Linked DNA regions of Homo sapiens: region 1 is linked to region 2. Evidence: promoter capture Hi-C in 16 types of primary human blood cells and fetal thymus (Javierre and others, 2016). All regions are on one chromosome and are shown on one strand. The core of a region is centred on a gene start or on the middle of the fragment in contact, and the rest is flanking DNA. Distances in the headings are between cores, read along the strand shown. Region 1 has its middle 410 kb from the start of POTEA. Region 2 holds the start of POMK (protein O-mannose kinase).

Evidence for each region. Contacts are between HindIII fragments. The CHiCAGO score rates a contact against its expected background, and 5 or more counts as called.
Region 1: a contact is called between a fragment that was not itself captured here and the fragment with the promoter of POMK in region 2, in 2 of 17 cell types (M1 macrophages and M2 macrophages). The highest score is 7.3, in M1 macrophages.

What each region holds. Positions count from the first base shown.
Region 1 is chr8:43,699,691-43,706,171 of GRCh38, reverse strand. No RefSeq gene overlaps it. Among named protein-coding and RNA genes, the nearest start is that of POTEA, 410 kb to the right of the region's middle. The HindIII fragment of the contact is 6,220 bases long and covers 1-4,937 here.
Region 2 is chr8:43,091,423-43,097,958 of GRCh38, reverse strand. POMK (protein O-mannose kinase) reads right to left here and starts at 4,444. Exons shown (of 5, transcript NM_032237.5): 1 at 4,396-4,444; 2 at 344-435. RefSeq lists a silencer at 4,207-4,416 and enhancers at 3,668-4,573, 4,574-5,480. The HindIII fragment of the contact is 4,326 bases long and covers 2,161-6,486 here.

The DNA of each region.
Region 1 (6,481 bases), core at 578-3,077, 610 kb before region 2:
GCTTCTGCACAGCAAAAGAAACTACTATCAGAGTGAACAGGCAACCTACAGAATGGGAGAAAAGTTTTGCAATCTACTCACCCGACAAAGGGCTAATATCCAGAATCTACAATGATCTCAAACAAATTTACAAGAAAAAAACAAACAACCCCATCAAAAAGTGGGCAAAGGATATGAACAGACACTTCTCAAAAGAAGACATTTATGCAGACTAAAAACACATGAAAAAATGTTAACCATCACTGGCCATCAGAGAAATGCAAATCAAAACCACAATGAGATACCTTCTTACACCAGGTAGAATGGCAATCATTAGAAAGTCAGGAAACAACAGGTGCTGGAGAGGATGTGGAGAAATAGGAACACTTTTACACTGTTGGTGGTACTGTAAACTAGTTCAACCATTGTGGAAGTCAGTGTGGCAATTCCTCAGGGATCTAGAACTAGAAATACCATTTGACCCAGCCATCCCATTACTGGGGATATACTCAAAGGATTACAAATCATGCTGCTATAAAGACACATGCACACGTATGTTTATAGTGGCACTATTCCCAATAGCAAAGACTTGGAACCAACCTAAATGTCCAACAACGATAGACTGGATTAAGAAAATGTGACACATATACACCATGGAATACTATGCAGCCATAAAAAATGATGAGTTCATGTTCTTTGTAGAGACATGGATGAAACTGGAAACCATCATTCTCAGCTAACTATCACAAGGACAAAAAACCAAACACTGCGTTTTCTCACTCATAGGTGGGAATTGACCAATGAGAACACATGGACACAGGAAGGGGAACATCACACACTGGTGACTGTTGTGGGGTGGGGGGAGCAGTGAGGGATAGCATTAGGAGATATACCTAATGCTAAATGACGAGTTAATTGGTGCAGCACACCAACATGGCACATGTATACATATGTAACCAACCTGCATATTGTGCACATGTACCCTAAATCCTAAAGTATAATAATAATAAAATTTTAAAAAAATACATTAACAGATTTCCTAATATTGAAGGATTCTTTCATTCTGGAATGAGTCTTGTTGATCATGTTGTTTGTTTAATATGCTATTGGTTATTTTATTTAAAAATTTTCCATTCTTAATCATAAGTAAAATTGGTCTGAAGTTTTTTTGTTGAAAAATTATATATTTTTTGTAAATTGTATTTTCCTAGAACATCAAGTCTAAGTGTGGTCCTAGGATCCCCTCTTCCTGAGATCCTCTTAAGGGGTTAAGATTAAATTTATTTTCATGAAAAAAACTACTACTTTGAATTCATGGTTAGACAGCTTACATATAGCCATATCAATGGGGTCAGTTACTGGTTTTTTGCTTTGCCCATTTGGAGAGATTATGGTTTCCTGTTTGCTGTTGTTTCTTGTGCATATATGTCTACATCTTTCTATTAAAGAATTTATTCTTGACAAAAAAAGAGGTTTCCAACCTGTTGAATCAAAATAAAGCTGTATCTCTGTGAGATAAATTCACTCATCACAAACCAGTTTCAGAGATAGCTTCTCCCGAGTTACTATCTGGGGATAGTCAATTTTTCACAATAGGCCTCAAAGGGCTCCCAAATGCCCCTTCACAAATTACACAATAAGAGTGTTTACAAACTGCTCAATCAAAAGAAATGTTTAATTCTGTGAGATGAATCAACATATGGCAAACCAGTTTCACAGATAACTTATTTCTTGTTTTTATCTTGGGATGTTTGAATTTTCACCTTAGGCCTCAATGGCTTCCCAAATGTCCCTTTGCAAATTGTCTAAAAAGAGTGTTTCAAACCTGCTAATTTAAAGTAAGTCTTACCTCTGTGAGATGAATTCACACATTACAAACCAGTTTCACAGATTGCTTATTTCTAGTTTTTATCTGGGGATATTCTGTTTTTCATCTTAGATTTCAAGGGGCTCCAAAATATCCCTTCTCATTTACTACAGAAAGGGTGTTTCCAATCTGTTGAAAGAAATAAAGGTTTACTTCTGTGAGATGAATCCACGCATCACAAAGCAGTTTCAAAGATAGCTTCTTTCTATTTTTTATCTGGGGATATTCTGTTTTTCACCATAGGCCTCAATGGGCTCACAAATGCCCCTTTGCAGATTCTATAAGAAGAGTGTTTCCAACCTGCTAATCAAAAGTGACATTTAACTCTGTGAGATAAATCCACACATCACAAATCAGTTTCACAGACAGCTTTCCTTCAGTTTTTATCTGTAAATATTTGTTTTTTTACCATAGGCTTCAAAGGCTCCTAAATGTCTATTCGCAGATTTTACAAAAAAAAAAAGTGTTTCCAAATTACTGAATCAAAAGAAATTTTTAACTTGGTGAGAGAATCCACACATCACAAAGCAGTATACAGATAGCTTCTTTCTAGTTTTTTTCTGAAGATATTTGGTTTTTCATGATAGGCCTCAATAGGCTCCCAAGTTTACCTTCATGGAGCCTAAAAAAAGAGTGTTTCCAAACTGCTGAATCAAAAGAAAGGTGTAATACTATGGGATAAATCCACACATCACAAAGAAGTTCGACAGATAGTTTCTTTCTAGTTTTCAACTATGGATACTCGGTATTTCACCATAGGCCTCAGTGGAATTCTAAATGTCCCTTTGCAGATTCTAAAATAAGCGTGTTTCCAACATGCTAATCAGAAGAAGTTTTAACTCTGTGATTTCCACACACCACAAGGCAGTTTCACAGATAGCTTCTTTTCAGTTTTTACCTAAGGACATTCTATTTTTTAACTATAGGCATCAATGGGCTTCTAAATGTCCCTTCGCATTTACTACAAAAGCAGTGTTTTCAATTTGTTGAATCAAAATAAAGTTTAAATCTGTGAGTTGAATACTCACGTCAGAAAGCAGTTTCACAGATAGCTTATTTCTAGTTTTTTCTTGGGGATATTCGGTTTTTAACCATAGGCCTCAACGGGCTCCCAAATATTTCTTCACAGATTGTACAAATAGTGTTTCCAACGTGCTAAATAAAAAAAAGGATCTACACTGTGAGATGATACAAAACAAACCAGTTTCACAGATAGTCTCTTTCTAGTTTTTATCTTGGGATATTCGGATTTTCACCATAGGCCTCAAAGTACTCCCAAATGTCCCTTCACACATTCTGCAAAAAGGGTGTTTCCAACCTGCTCAATCATAGGAAAAGTTTAAAGCTGTGAAATGAATCCACACATCCAAAAGCAGTTTTACAAGCAGCTTGCTTCTATTTTTTTCTGGGGATATTCAGTTTTTCACCGTAAGCCTCAAGGGGCACCCAAATATCTTTTTGCAGGTTCTACAAAATGATATTTCCAACCTGCTCAATTAGAAGAATGGTTTAACTCTGTGGCATAATTCCACACATCACAAAGCAGTTTTACAGATGGGCTTCTTTCTAGCTTTTTTCTGGGGATATTCAATTTTTCACCATAGGCCCCAAAGGGCTCCCAAATGTCCCTTCGCATTTACTGCAAAAACAGTGTTTCCAACTTGTTACTTGTTGAATCAACATGAAGGTTTAACTCTGTGAGATGAATCCACTCATCAGAAGGCAGTATCCTAGATAGTTTCTTTGGGAAAGAGAGTTTCTGGGCTGCCAGATGAGATGGTCTCCCCTGTGTGAGACACCTATGTGAGAGACCATGGGTGGTCTCTGAGCAGAAAAGTCTCCTTGTTGCCCTCATGTCTTTATGCCCCTAAAGCATAATTGCTCCGTGGCATTCCACAGGTTGCTCAGGGAGATAACACTCCCTTGAAACAGTGAAGTATAAACAAATATCTTGGCTCCTCCTGAAACCCACTCTCACCCTTTTCAGTCTCCATAAGTTAAAGATCTTAAGTAGTCTAGACACATGCCTTTGCTCAAGGAAATTCACAGAAACGGCCACTGCTATACATCTTATTGAATGACTCACAAGTTCTCCTTCACTGATTAACCCTTTTCCTCTTCCCTTCCTCCCCTCACATCTGTCCTAAGAACAAAGAGCTTGTAAACCAATAAATTAGGCAGAGCCAAAGAGCTCTGGACCTTGAGGAAGCCTCTGGATCTCCTGCCCCCTTGATCTGCCTTTTAAACCCGTATTCTGTCTCTTTCCAACTCCTTTGACTCTTCTGAACTTGGGGTACTCACCGGGTGGTGTGGGGGTGGTTTCCCCAACATCCGTTGCCCAACATGGGGCTCCCTGTAATCTCTACAAATAATCCGGTGAAGGAACGGCAGAGTGTGGAAAGTGGAGGACGAGTGACAAAGGATGCCAGAGTACTTTTTCACTTCAAGCTCTATGGGTAAGTAGGGAGCTCAGAGAATTCCATGGTAATGTCGGAAAAATATGGGTCAGGCTCACAGTAAGTTTGCTAATTACTTATGCCTGGTGTGGCAGTTATTGCACTGCAGAGGGGTAATTGTGAGTATCCAAAACCTCACATCTTAGTTCCATCTCATAGAAAAGTATTCTCCTTGGTTCCTGAAATATGGAATGATGAACATAAAAGATTGGGACAAGTTCGGATCAGCCTTAAAAGGAGCACAAGAGCGCCATGATATTCCCTTCTCTGCTTGGTCTTTGTGGTCAGCAATTAAAACAGCAGTGGAGCCCTTCCACACTGAGGAGGAGGAGGAGAAGTTTCAGGATAACAGAAAAGTTTAATAATCAGGAGTCTGATGATCAGCAAAGTGAACCATCACAGTCTACTTTTAAAAAGGAGGAGAAATGGGAAGCTATATATGCTAACTTCCAAAAACTTATCAAAGAAACAATTCCACTTACTGCAGAAAGAGTGCCACCTACTGCTCCTTTAGGGGAAGGTCCTGAATGACCACCCCCACTTCAATCTTATGAATTTTTGGAACGGGAGTCTGAGATGCGACTTGCCACTCCCATTGTTGCATGCCCCACCATTAATTATGGTGAAGGGAAGCTTCAGGCTTGCCCAAGAGCCAATTACAGTAAGGGAATGATCCAGGCTTGTCCGCCTGTTAATTATCATAGCGGAATGCTGTGAGCCAGTCCAAATACAAATTATGGCACAGGCACAATTCAGGCATCCATTTGCCAGGCATGAGAAATGGGGGATTTGGATGCTTGGCAGTTTCCAGTAATTAATTCTCCAGCTGAGAAGCCTTGAGAACATTCTCAAGAATGCCAGGAGACATTTGCTTTTAAAATATTAAAAGACTTAGAGCTAGCAATTAAACAGTGTGGGCCAAATTCTCCTTATGTTAATTCCTTGTTAAAATCTGTGCCTTTTAACAGGCATTTAATACTTACCGATTGGGAATCATTAGCCTGATCCACCCTGTCCCCCTCTTAATTTCTCCAAATTAAAACCTGGTGGATGGATGAAGCAACAAATCAGGCATGCAGAAATGCTCAAGCCCAACCTCCCATTAATATCACACCTGATCAATTGCTTGGAATCGGACAGGCATGGGGTGCTCTAAATCAACAGATGGCAATGGGGGATGAGGCTATTGATCAGCTCAGAACTATATGCTTAAGAGCCTAGGAAAATATTGACGACCCTGGTACTACTAATCCTTCTTTTAACTCAGTTCAGCAGGGCCCAAGGGAGAGTTATCCAGATTTTATCGCCCATTTGCAAGACGTGACTCGAAAGTCTATTTTGGATTCTCATGCCAGGAAAGTGATCATTCAGCTGCTTGCTTATGAAAATGCTAATATAGAATGTCAGGCAGCAATTAGACCTATTAAGGGAAAGGCAGATCTAAATGAGGAAAATAAGTGAATACATTAAAGCCTGTGATGGCACTGGAGGGCCCTTATATAAGGTCAGCCTGCTTGCTCAGGCAATGGCTAGACTAAAGGTAACAAAAAACACACGAGTGTTCCCTGGATCTTGCTATAATTGTGGACAGATAGGACATACAAAAAGAGAGTGTGCAAATAGCCAAAAAAGGAAAAACTCAGGAGGAAAAAGCAGGGAACCAGGTACCTGTCCCAGATGTAAAAAAGGAAAGCACTGGGCTAATCAATGTCATTCAAAGTTTGATAACAGCAGATAGCCCTTGCCAGGAAATGGAGAGAGGGGCCAGCCTCAGGCCCTAATTCAAAATGGGGCATTCCCAATTCAGGATGGGATGCCCCCAACTCCAAATGGAGTGTTCCCAGCCCAGTCTATCCCTGTACAAATGTACAGCAATTGTCCCCGTCCACAGCTAGAAGCGATGCAGTAGATTTATGCTGTATCAAAACCATATCCCTCCTTCCTGGGGAGCCTCTTAGGAAGGTCCCAACAGGAATTTATGGCCCATTGCCAAACGGCACTCTGGGACTTATACAAGGAAGGTCCAGCTTAAACTTAAAGGGAATTCAAGTACATACTGGAGTAGTGGACTGTGATTGCCAGGGAGAAATTCAAATTGTTACTTCCTCCACTGTTCCCTGGAGTGCTAATCCAGGTGAGAGAATCACTCAACTCTTGCTTTTACTGTATGTTAAGTTAG
Region 2 (6,536 bases), core at 3,195-5,694:
CCATCTGAACTCTGCTGCTTTCTAAGTCTGCACTGCAGCCCAGGTCTCTCCTATGCTTTGCTCACTGGCCTATCAAGGTATGGGATGTCCACTGCAGAACTCCCCAGTCCCCACAGGCCCCTCCTCCAGGGTTCCCTCTGTCATGGGCTCATGACCCAACCACCCACTCAAGTTACAGACCAGGTGTGTGTGACTTGATTCCTCCCTCCCCTAAACTCTAAACCAACCGATTACCACATGCAGTCAATGCTCCCACCAAAACCTCCCTCACAACTGCTTGCATATCTCCTTCCTTGCTGCCCTTCCCCTCCACCCCGCTGCGTGAGCCAGCAGCACCTCTCACCTGGGTTTCCACAATAGATTCCCAAGCAGACGCCCAGTTTTTCCTCTCTTGCAGTCCATTCTCAGGATTACACAGCAAACAGGATCCTTTTTCTTTAAGTGTTTCACACACAGAGAAAAAAAAAATCATAAGCATTCATCCAGCTTTGTCAAGTCACACTGCATCATTTTTTCAGATCTTTTTTTAAAGAAATTAAATATTACAAATAGAGTTGAAGACCCTCTGGACTCCTCCCCATCCAATTCTACTCCCCCTCAAGAAGTGATCACTATCTTCAAGTTGGTGGACATCAGAGATTCTCAAACTGTGCTCCCCAGACCTGTGGCGTCATAGCCCAGGAACCTGGGAGAAATGCAAATTCTTGGGTCCACACTCCAAACCTACTGAATCAGAAATGAACATCTGTGTTTTAATAAATCCTCTAGGTGATTTGGATGCATGCTAAAGTCTGAAAACCACTGGTGTATATAATTCCTATACATGCTGTCTATCTATCTAATCGATCTTATCTATTTACCTACCTACTTATCTATCTACTTAAGACATGGAGTCTCACTATGTTGCCCAGGCTAGACTCAAGTGATCCTCCTGCCTCCACCTCCCAAGCAGCTGGGACTGACTACAGGGATGGGTTACCAAACTCCGCTTCTCATACATGCTTATTTTCACAAGTATGTGCCCATAAATCATACATATGTTTTCAAGCTTTATACAAACAGTGATGGGCTGGTATTATCCTCCTGCAACCAGTTTTTTTTAAAAGCTCAACATTACATTTCTGAGATTTATCCATGCAGATGCACAAAACTCAGTTCACTATTTTCAACTGGTTTGACTTTTCCACAATTAGTGAGACAAGCTGTGTATACATCTCCCCAGGCATACATGGAAGTTTCTCTGATACATGCAGGGAGAGCTTTCTTTTTTTTCTTTTTTCTTTTTTTGAGAAGGAGTCTCACTCTGTCACCAGGCTGGAGTGCTATAGCACAATCTCAGCTCACTGCAACCTCTGACTCCCTTGTTAAAGGGATTCTCCTGCCTCAGCCTCCTGAGTAGCTGGGATTACAGAGCTGGGATTACAGGCACGTGCCACCATGCCCAGCTAATTTTAGTATTTTAATAGAGACGGAGTTTCACTATGTTGGCCAGATGGTCTCAATCTCCTGACCTCGTGATCCGCCCACCTTGGCTTCCCAAAGTGCTGGGATTACAGGCATGAGCCACCATGTCCGGCCCATGCAGGGAGAGCTTTCTAAAGCACGGATCTGATCCCACCTTGCTTAACATTCAACAGCCCCCCACTCGGCCCACAGGATCAAGTCCAAACTCTTATGTGGCCTCCTGAAATCTAGCCCCTATCTGCTTCCCTAAACCCTCCCTGCACCACACTCTCTGGCCCCTGAGCTTTCCTCAAAGGCTCCCTTTCTGGGATACCCAGGCCCCGGCTTCCTCTAGATTCTGAGCACCAAGAAGCCTGCCTGCCTGTCCTGTTCACCACTGCACCCCAGTGCCTGGCACACAGCGGGTACTCGGCAAAGACGCACCAACTGCCTGGTCACTCTGCACCTCTCCCTCTTCATGGCCTCAGCCGCACAGGCTGCTTTCCCTCTCCTGTGTTCGCTCCACGGAATCCGCTCTTCCTCTCCTCACGGCTCCTGTCTTCTGAGGACCCTCATCTGCCACCTCCTTCTCCAATCCAAGTTTCCCAGCTCAAACCCTGCGATAAATCCTTTCAACCCTCCAACCCTCCTTACCCCTAACCTCCCACCAATCCTTCCTTGCCACTAGTGGATTCAGGTTTTATGGGGCCTGAAGCTTATACAAGTTGGGGCAAGGAGTGGTAATTCCTTAAGAGAAGAATAGTTATGAATGTAAAAGTGCTGAGCCTCTTGCCAGAGTTTTGGCAAGAGGATTTGTGCAAGGTTTTGGAAGGTATTTGTGCAAGTGAAGAGGCTAGAGGCTTCATCATAAACCCAGATCTGCTTGTCATTCACCAGACCCATGTAACTTGCCCTGTCCACTTCTTCATTTCCACTCAAAGGCTGCCAACATCAGCTACAAAACTCTGTGGGACTCTAGAAATGCATATTTTCTAATCTCTCTTGGACCCTCAGCATTACTCAGAAAACCTTTAATGCATTTCTTGCTGAATCCAAATTTCATATGCCCCAAAAACCTTTTATATATCCCTAAGTCCTCACATTCACTTCTGAATCCTCTCTCGGCAAAAACAAACCAAACCAAACCAAAACAAAACAAATAAAAAAAATACCCCAAAATTCATTTGACTTTTATACACTGTCAACTTCACACCAATTCTGTGAAGTGGATGTAATTGTTGTTATTCCCATTTCACAGATAAGACAACTGAGTCAGAGGTGAAGTAATATATCTAAGGTCACTGAACTATACACAGAAGAGCCAAGTTTTCTGGCCTCAAGCCCATTCTTCCCCTAAATACCGCAATGCTCGGGAGTTGAACTAAATCAAACCCAGCGTGGTCAGCTAGGGGCTGGGCTGGGGTACCCTGGGACTGCCGGTTTCTTAAAGAAGACTTCAGCCCACCTCAACCCCGATTTGCTTTTTTGTTTCACAGGCATATTCTGGAGTAGGCCGCCCAGAGCATAGCATGAGGCTGTGTGGCTAAAGGAACTTTCGTGTCCAGAAGTAAGCAAAAACCACTGAAATTTACTGGTCCTGAAAACAGCCTGCACATTAAGGAATAAAGATGGTGGGGCAGGTTGGGCAGAAGAAATTCAGGCACGACTGAAATGCAAAGCATTTCTGACACTGATAGGAAGGCTTATTGATAGAGAAAGGCTTGGGACCCACTGCTCCACATTTACAGCTTAAAAAGAAAAGAAAAGCAAAGGGACAAAACTAGTTTTTACCGACTTACAAGATATTTTCTACAACTAGGGAAGACACAGAGTAATGTCATCCAATACAGTTTAGAGTAGAATTCCATTGCGCCAATAAAGCACAAGGTACATTAAGAGGATTATTTTAAATATTCTGAACGCTTATTTAGCCTTAAGGTTCTATAGCAAAGGCAAAGGGTGGCAAAGACAAGATTATGCAACAAAACAGCGAAATTTTGCTTTCTAAAAAAAAGAGAATATGATTACACTTAACACCTCCTGGCAACAATGATCTCGTGCAGAATAAACACCCAAAGGCAAAGAGCTGAGACAGAGTCCTCGGTCCTTTCTGGTTTTTTTGTTTTTTGTTTTGTTTTGGTTTGGTTTGGTTTTTGTTTTTTTAAACAGAGACAGCCTCTGCCGGACCCAGTAGCTCACGCCTGTAATCCCAGCACTTTGGGAGGCAGAGGCGGGCGGATCACCTGAGGTCAGGCGTTCGAGACCAGCCTGACCAACATGGGGAAACCCCGTTTCTACTAAAAATACAAAAATTAGCCGGGCGTGGTGGCGGACGCCTGTAATCCCAGGAGCCAAGACCGCGCCACTACACTCCAGCCTGGGCGACAGAGCGAGACTCCGTCTCAAATAATAATAATAATGATAAAGTAATAATAATAGAAACAGCCTCTCACTCTGGCCCCCAGGCTGAAGTGCAGTGGCGCGATTTCGGCTCACTGAAACCTCCGCCCCCGCCGGGTTCAAGCATTCTCCCGCCTCAGCCTCCGGAGTAGATAAGACTATAGGCGGCGCCACCGCGCCCGGCTAAGTGCTTTTTTACGGAGACAGAAGTTCCGCCATGTTGCCCAGGCTGCTCTCGCCTGAGCTCACGCGATCCTCCCGCCTCGGCCTCCCAAAGCGCTGGGATTACAGGCTGGAGCCACCTCGCCGGGCCCTTCTCTGGTTCTTTAACGTCCCGCTACCGCGCAGGGGTGGACGCGGAGATAGGGGCTGGGCGCGGTGGACACGGCCGCTCAGGCCCAGCGCAGCCTCCTAGGGAGCCTCCGGACAGGCCGCGGGCAGGCGGCCGGGGCTGCGGGGGGTGCGGCCCAGGCCACGTACAGGGTCCCCCGGGAAACCCAGCTGCACGCCCCCTCGCCCCTTCGCCCTCTCACCCCTCGCCGCAGCACCTACCTGCAGCCCAAGCCTCTGCGGCTCCTGCCACCCCGGGCCAGCACGCACTGGGCCTACTGCGCTTGCGCGTTCGGAAGCGCGTCCTGGGCGGGTGAGCGTGGCGCTGCTGCCCCCTGGCGTCCTCCTCCGGCCGTGCACTGAAGCCGGAGCGAACGCCGCGGCGGTACCAGCGCGCACCTACCCAGTCTCCCTGTCTGGCTTCTGCTTCCCTAACTTGGGAGAACGATTTTGTGTTGACCGACTATTGCTTCAGCCTGGAGCCAGGCTCATGCAGAGCAGCTGTCAGATCTAGACGCACTGCGAGGCCTTCCAAAGCGTAGTCCTCAGACCCGCGGCATCTGCAGGGACCTTGCTGGAAAGGCTGATTCCCAGCTCCGGCCCAGACCCGCCACTCGGGGACCCAGATGCCTGAAGTTGGACAATCGCTCTGTAAAAGAAACTGTGGGGCTTAGCCTAGACGCAGTAAAGCTGAGCTGCACACATCAAGCGCAGCAGACAAGACCTTGGCAAGCCTCCGCGGAGGGGCAGGACTGGGCAAAGGCGGGGAAGTCCGTCGAGGGCCGGCCAGGAGCCCTGCCGGGAGCCCAACACGCACTCGGGCGCTTGCTCCGGGAAACCGAAAGGGAGGCTTGCAGCATCGAAGTCAGCTGGGTCATGGAACGTCTAGGTTGTGTACATCGGAAGCGTTAGCTGCTTCTACACTGACACACTGCGAAAGTCCAGAATCAAGACAGTAACATGGTGTGGGTTAAAAAAACTGAGCCGGTACTAGCTATCCAAACAGTATTAAAATTAACAGAAACGTTTGCCTATCACATGGACAAACAGCGGTAATACCTCCTGTCGTTACAGTAGAGTCTGAAAGTTTCCTCACACATACAAGTGAGTGTAAATTGGAATTCCTCCTACGTGCCCTAGCAAATCCATTTCTAGGAATTTATCCTTCAGAAATAACGTCTGTGGCCGGGCGCCGTGGCTCATGCCTGTAATCCCAGGACTTTGGGAGGCCGAGGTGGGCGGATCACGAGGTCAGGAGACCGAGACCATCCTGGATAACACGGTGAAACCCCGTCTCTACTAAAAATACAAAAAATTAGCCGGGCATGGTGGCGGGCGTGAGAATGGCGTGAACCCGGGAGGCGGAGCTTGCAGTGAGCCGAGATCGCGCCACTGTACTCCAGCCTGGGTGACAGAGCGAGACTCCGTCTCAAAAAAAAAAAAAAAAAAAAAGAAAAAGAAATAATATGTCTGCAAGATGTATGCACAAGAGATCTTGCTGAAGCATTGCTGATAAAAGATATTTATAATAGAGAAAAAAAGAAACCTGAATGTATAACAATAGGGGTTTCTGAAAGAAATTATATTACATCCACATAGCCATGAAAAATACTAACGGGTGCACAGTTTCAGTGTGAGAAGATGGTAAAGTCCTGGAGATGGATGGGGGTGATGGTTGCACAACAGTGTGAATATACACCAATAAATTGGGTGGAGGCCGAGAGCTCGGGGCCGTGAGCAAGCCTCCAACGCTCCGGTCCCCCGGACCCGCCTTTTAAACTCTTATTCTAATTCCTTTGTCTTCGCTGGACTCGGGGTACCCGCCGGGTGGTGTGGGGCTGGTTTCCCCAACAACTTCACTCTAGCCTGGGCAAAAGAGCAAAGCTCCGTCTCAAACAAACAAAGATAGAAACCAACCAGCAGCTCTCCTTGCTGAGTTCTTTGCCACGTGGCCACCATTTTGTGCCCACAGGCTTTTTGGGGGTGCTGGGAAAAGGTGAAATTTTAACACTGATGAAAAATTAGAGGAATTAAATTCAAACAAAAAATTAAAAATAAAAAGAACAGCAGAATTTGACGCACCATCAAACTGGTTGTGTCACCCATCTTCAAGCTGAAGGTAGTCCAAAGCCTGGAACTGAGTGTCGGGGGCACACACAGAGACTCGGGAGAAACCCTCTGATTCTGGCTCGTGGAGCAGAAAAGGAAACTCCTAACCCTCAGAGGGAGTGAAGAAAATTCCCTGTTCTTTCTATTTTCTTCTTTTCTTTGCACTCCAGCCCCCAGTCAAGCCCAAGGCCAGAGCAAAAAGCTTCAGCAGCCAAAAGTCTGAGGGAAAGAGATAGTCCTTTCCATTCAGTAGC